Regions from separate parts of the Homo sapiens genome. Here region 2 is linked to region 1. The links are contacts of gene promoters, found by promoter capture Hi-C in blood cells and fetal thymus (Javierre and others, 2016). All regions are on one chromosome and are shown on one strand. Each heading gives the region's core, a stretch centred on a gene start or on the middle of the fragment in contact. The rest is flanking DNA. Distances are from core to core; before and after follow the strand shown.

What was found. The method cuts DNA at HindIII sites, captures the fragments that hold promoters and counts their contacts. A CHiCAGO score of 5 or more calls a contact.
Region 2: a fragment that was not itself captured here is called in contact with the fragment with the promoter of POLA1 in region 1 in 1 of 17 cell types (neutrophils); the score reaches 6.4 in neutrophils.

Annotation. Positions count from the first base shown.
Region 1 is chrX:24,692,235-24,695,815 of GRCh38, reverse strand. It overlaps POLA1 (DNA polymerase alpha 1, catalytic subunit), which reads right to left and starts at 1,898. Exons shown (of 37, transcript NM_001330360.2): 1 at 1,812-1,898. The coding sequence starts at 1,854. RefSeq lists enhancers at 1,637-1,726, 3,429-3,581 and a silencer at 1,917-2,076. The HindIII fragment of the contact is 2,747 bases long and covers 312-3,058 here.
Region 2 is chrX:24,925,124-24,928,301 of GRCh38, reverse strand. All of the region lies in intron 35 of POLA1 (DNA polymerase alpha 1, catalytic subunit), which reads right to left. Among named protein-coding and RNA genes, the nearest start is that of ARX, 89 kb to the left of the region's middle. The HindIII fragment of the contact is 5,373 bases long and covers 1-3,178 here.

The DNA.
Region 1 (3,581 bases), core at 649-3,148:
ACCACTGTACCTGCTTTTTTGATCATTAAACTTTCCCTGGCCGGGCGCAGTGGCTCATGCCTGTAATCTCATCACTTTGGGAGGAAGAGACAGGTGGATCACCTGACATCAGGAGTTCAAGACCAGCCTGGCCAACATGGTGAAACCCTGTCTCTACTGAAAATACAAAAAATTAGCCGGTGTGGTGGTGGGCACCTGTAATCCCAGCAACTCGGGAGGCTGAGGCAGAACTGCTTGAACCCAGGAGGCAGAGGTTGCAGCCAGCTGAGATCACGTCACTGCACTCCAGTCTGGGCAACAAGAGGGAAGCTTTGTCTCAAAAATAAATAAATAAATAAAAATTCCCTGATCTTTTTTCATATATAGTAACAGCTAGTTACAGACCTTTCAACTTTTCACTGCCATTATCAAGGTGCCCTGCCTGCTAATACTGAAGAAAAAAAAAAGCCTACATTTTGTTTTTTGGAGTATGTCTCCAATGCTTCACGTAGGTAACTTAGCAAAAAAAGAATAAGCATGAAAAAAATCCAGCTACAAAGGTTTAAATATTTGTTTCAAAATTACCATCTGGAGTATCTCTATCCTCCCCAAAAGCAGACAGACACTAGCTTACAGCAGTCTTTCAGGTAACAATCCTTCAGTCTGCTCTAAAGGAAAAATTCCAGTCACAAGTCCCCAGCAACTACTTAATGAACACCATGACCTAAGAGGAGTCTCAAGATTGCACAGTATCCTCCAAAGTGATTTCCTGATGTTCATAGATGACGTAGTTTTTAGGATGAAGAAAGGGCTTAGTGGCAAATCACTGATAGAGGCCTGCAAAGACTGTTCGTTCACATACTTACACCCAACATCCTATCTGTAATCCAGGCAGGTCGACTCTCCAAAATAGTCTTAAAAAACGAACGGCTAGAACAAATTGAAATCTGTGACTCACAACTAGGTGAATGCAAAGGAAGCTGATTAGGAAGCGAGTTCTCATTAATGGTGATGTATCTGAATGACAGGAGAGGTGACGCTTGAGCTAACAAAGTGAAGCATCTGATTTTAAGTTAGAAGTTAACTGAAGTCACGCTTTAGTTGAACACTTAAAAAATCAGACAAATCTATTTGCATTTTTGTATTCTATTTTTGGAAATAAAAGACACCCCTGACAAACGGAGTGATATACAGGGGATCCGAAATGCCCTAAATTGATGCCATTTTTTTGAAACTTCACCAGGAATGACTAGATTGTGAACAGGATTTCTACGCAGCACTTGAAGAACTTTCCAAAGAATCTGAAAGAAAAATTGTTAATGCATAAAGTAGAAACCCATTACCTAAAAATACAAAACGCGTTATTCCCCGATGACAGCACTTAGAGCTTTCTTTCCTGCTTAGTTACAATGTATAAAATTTTCCTGGAAGTTCCTACAAAAAGGGACACAGATCTGTTCTGTTCAAGCCTTCAAGTGGATACTTAGGGAGATCGCAGTGAAATACTTTCGGCCCCACGGGGCCAGTCTCAATAAAGTTATACCCAGCACGTGGGTGCAACTCACCAAAAGAAATAGAAACGCAATCGACTGTGGAGACTCTCAGTGGCAGAGGTGAGACAGCCTCCCAAACAAAAATCCCTCCAGGCTCTGGTCCTCCAAGAGCAAACCGCGCCTAAAGGAAGCCCGGTCCGACGCCAGAAGGGCCCCCGCCGGGGACGACCAAGGTCTGCGCCCAAACAAACCCGGGTGTGCGCCTCCCTCAGAACCCCCACCACCGGCAATCATGCCACTGTCCCAACCCGGAGCCCCGCGCGCGGAATTGTCCCTCACCACTCGCCCCTATCTCACAGTCGTCGCCGTGCACAGGTGCCATGGTCCCGAATCTCCCGATTCCGCGCCAACCAGCCCAAAACTGGCGCGGGGGCCGAGACAGGCGCCAGCCTGAAAGCCAATCAGCGGCTCGGGAGGCTGCGGACTTCCGGCCGGAAGGCCACTGACGTGCCGCGCCGCGCCGCGCTCCGCCCCCGGCCTTCCCGCGGACGCGCGTTTGGCGCCCTGTGATGACCCCTTAGGGAAAAGCTAGAGCTGAGGGGAAGCCGGAGGAGAGCAGGAGAAAGAAGCGGTCGGGCGCTGGAAAGGAGCCGCCTGGAGACTGCGCAAGCGCACGCATGCTGATGGGAAAAGATTTGGGCGCGTGGGAGAAAGGGCGCTCTGGTTCTCAGAGCCCATTTTCCCGGAAAGGAGGCGCGGGCGGGCAGGAGAGTGGGCGTGGTTGGATCGTTTTCCCCAGAGCCGGGAAAGCGACTGCCTCCTGCTGCGCGCCCTGAATTTTGCCTGATAGTTTGCTTCTCAGCAGTCTGGATACAGTGGCTGTGTGATTAACAACTTAAAGATATATGCTCCGTCTTAACCAAATAACCAGAAGTAGCATTACCAATAAATGGCCATCTGATCTCATATGCCTCCTGATGTAATGCGTATGAAAAAGGAAAAACTTCGCCTATATGGTCTTCTTGCAAAAAATGTCTAACCTGAATCTAACCATGAAGAAACAATCAGATGTATTCAAAATGTAGGACAATCTACAAAACACCTGACGTGAACTCCAAAATTTCAATGTTATGAAAAACAAAAAGGGTATTCAATTTTTGTGTATGATACAATGGCTGTAATGTGTACATCTCATGTTATCTCTTTCCAAAAAGGTATAACATTTTTATTAAATAATGCCTGCCACACATTTGTATTTTTTCCTACATTATTGCCCACATGCTTATTGATCCCTTCTTCATGTGACAACAATTTTGTAATATTTTCTCCAAAGAGGATATAAAGATAATTCAATCTGTCTTCTAGCATGGTTGATCAATACTTGTTTCTTAATTTCTGATTGTTTAGAAAATGTCTTTCAGCTTCATAATCATTTAATATCATGTTATGTGATCCATATGTTGTGATACATAACATGTAGTAATTTACACTTAGACATAACTTCCTATTTAAAGTACTACGACAGATTTATTCCTACACTTCCCTTTTAAAAACTGATGGAAGTTTTATAGTTTTATTATCAAGCTTTTTCCAACCAGGAGAGAACCATGTTGGCTAGTCATTAATAAGAACCAAATCCTTACCTTAACAATTTCACAGCTGATTACTTCCCACATGCCCGGGTATAACTCTAGGCATTTCAAACCTCTTTTCTCTTTCACTACTGCTGTGGTCTGAATGTTTCTCTCCACATAAAATGTATGCGTTGAAACCTAATCACCAGTGTGGTGGTGTTAGGAGGTAGGGCCTCTGGGAGGTGATTAGGTCATCAGCAGGAACCCTCCCTCATGAATAGGATTAGTGCCCTCGGAAAAGAGGCTCCAGAGAGCTGCCTTGCCCCTTCTTCCATGTGAGAACAGAGCAATAAGGCACCATCTATGGACCAAAAAGTGGGCCTACCCCAAACACTGAATCTGCCGGCACCTTGATCTTGGAATTCCCAGCCTACAGCACTGTGAAAAATAAATTCCTGTTGTTTATTAGCCACCCAGTTTGTGGTATTTTGTTATAGCAGCCTGAACAGACTGAGACAATGACCCACATACTTTG
Region 2 (3,178 bases), core at 206-2,705, 230 kb before region 1:
CAAACGAGTGACAACCCACATGAAGGAATAAAGCGTCAGCCACGGAGTTTAGTGACCTGATATTAGTAGGCAGGCTAATTGAAAGTCACTGCCTAAATGGATAAGGAAAATAGGGGAAAAAATTAAAAAGGAGTTATATATTTTAAAAAAATATACCAACACCTCCTGCCCTTTTGATTCCTGACATATTTTGCAATTAGTAAACTGGTTGAAAACAAAAGGCCCTATTACATTTTCAATGTCAAATACAATTAAGTGGTTTTAAAAAACACACATGAAACAGAGAAAACTATAGTTTAAATGAACAAGAATAACACCTACTTTTGTTGTCTTGATTTTGCACCACTAATTTGTGATCCCTTGGAGATTTTTTGTTTTTTAAAAAATCTTTACCATCTTTTCTCTTTTGCCTTTGATGATAAATTCTTCTAATCAAGAAACCTGACACTCTCTAGTCTTATCTGAGATCTTCAGCGTTTTTTTCCTCACACTTAAATGCTCATTTTGACTGTACAAGATTGGATGGAAAATACTTCAAGAAAATAAGATGATATTTTAACATTTCTTTCTCTCTCCAGCTTTCACTTATTGGTTTAAAATGTTCGATTTCTTGCTCTTTCCTTGAAAATTGCACTCAACACAGTGCCTAGGCTTCTTTCAGTCTTCCTTTATAGTTAGAACATCATGTACCAAAGTGGCCGACTGTGATTTGGTAAGGACAATACTGAGCTGAAATAGCTACTGTATGTATCACGCTCTGCATTCAAGTTAGTTACTTGGAGTGTTACCAGAGTAATAAGGGTGGGCCACGGGTGCACTCATAGGTCCATATACACACAGGGGTAAGGAAAGAACTCTGTTTTGATACCTGGCACAGGGGACGACTTGGCAAATATTGTTGAAGAAATGAAGGGAAAAGGAAAATGCTTTAATACCACCGTTTTTTATGTGTTCTTTTTGAATCCTGTAATCAGATTATATTAGAAACAACGCAAACTTCATTCTTTCTCCAAGTCAAAGTACTTTATGACCAAAACATAGTCCTGAATCCATTTATCAATATTATCCAGTCTCTCTCCTGAGATTTCTGATGAGGTCCTATATCAGTGGTCCCTTACCTGGCTGCAAACCAGTCACCCCAAGAGCTTTAAAAAAAGTACTGATAGCTGGGTGTGGTGGCTCACACCTGTAATCCCAGCACTTTGGGAGGCATAGGAGGGCAGATCACTTGAGGTCAGGAGTTCGAGACCAGCCTGGCCAATATGGTGAAACCCCGTCTCTACTAAAAAAAAAAATACAAAAATTAGCTGGGTGTGGTGGCGCATGGCTGTAGTCCCAGCTACTTGGGACGCTGAGGTGGGAGAATCACTTGAACCTGGGAGGTGGAGGTTGCAGTGAGCCGAGATCACGCCACGGCACTCCAGCCTGGGCAAAAGAGTGAGGCTCCATCTCAAAAAAAAAAAAAGTACTGATGATCAGACCTCAGCCCCAGAACAACTAAATGAGAGTATAGAGTGGAGTGCTGGATATGAGCATTTTAAAGGGCTGCCAGGTAGTTCTAGTGGGCAGTCTGAGATGAGAACTGCTGTGCTACACACTACCTGTATCGGGGATACTTTTAGAACCATAGACTCTGATCCTTCTAATCTGGCTCAAGATCAAGGAATTTATGTTATCCAAAATAGGCTGAGAAGTTTTCATGAGAATCATTTCTGAGGAAGATGCTTGCTTGTTTAAGCAAGTTATTTCAAGATTAGGATAGGATATATTTTCTGTTACATAAAATACAGGGCAGTGTTAAAGCTGACTTGCATTTTTTTGGTCCTAAATTTTTACTGAATTATAATAAAAACACAAGAAGTACACAAATACTAGGTGTACGGCTTGATGCACAAAATGAACACATCTCTGTGATCAGTACGCAGAGCAAGAAACAACATTTTTAGTATCCCAGAGGCCCCCCTTATTCCCCTAATTATTCCCCATCTTCCCCTTAAAGCTAACAATAGATTTGCCTTTAAACTTTATGTGCATGCAGTCGTACAGTTTGTGTTCTTTTCTATTTGGTTTCTTTCTATTTTTATTTTATTTATTGTGAGACAGGGTCTCACTCTGTTGCCCATGCTGGAATGCAGTGGCGCAATCATAGCTCATTGCAGCCTTGAACTCCTGGGCTCAAGCAATCCTCCCACCTAAGCCTCCCATGTAGCTGGCACCACAGGCGCGTGCCACCACACCCAGCTAACTAAAAAAAAAAAAAAACTTTTAGTAGAGATGAGGTCTTGCTATATTGCTCAGGCTGGTCTCGAACTCCTCAGCCATCACACCCAGCCTTCTTTTTCTCAATATTGTGTTTGTGAGATTCATCTATGTTGTCCTGTGTAGCAGTCACGCATTTCTTCTCATTGTTGTGAGTCCCAGCTACTCCGGAGGCAGCAGAAACGCTTGAACCCAGGAGGTGGACGTTGTAGTGAGCTGAGCTCACTCATGCCACTGCACTCCAGCCTGGGCAACAGAGCAAGACTCCATCTCAAAACAAACAAACAAACAAACAAACAAACGGAATGATGCTACTGTGAATATTCCTGTACATGTCTTTGAAGCACATATTAATATGTATCATTTTCTGTTGATTACAGTTTGGAGGAGGGGAAATGCTGAGTCATAGGGCATGCAAATGTTCAGCTTTAGTAGGTACTGCCAAACTGTTTTCTGAGGTATCGATTTCATCTGACTTTCTTTTGAACTGGTTTGACAAGACAGTCTTTTACTTTATATTTCTAAGATATTTGCATGGGAACATAACCAGTCTTTTCTCTCTCATTTGTAGGGACAGCAGAAATTAGCTAAAGTCATCTCATAACACAACTTGTCCCTGAATTAAATTCCTTGAGGTATGAAGAGTTGGGCTCATGACCTTAGAGATTATCCACAGCAAAATCTTAATCTCAAGTTATCACCCTCATACAACCCAGAAGATGCAAGGCCTGCCTCCTTGCATCATCAACTGGTACATTCTCATTGATGTAAAATTCATTTTGGTGAAGCCTGAAAAATATCAAATCATGAAGGAAAATCAGCTGCCAAAAAACCCAAAACGTACCCCCAAACACCACGTTCTAGTAGAAGCATAGATAATCCAGCACTCGCTATAACTGTAAAATATAATGAAGGTGTA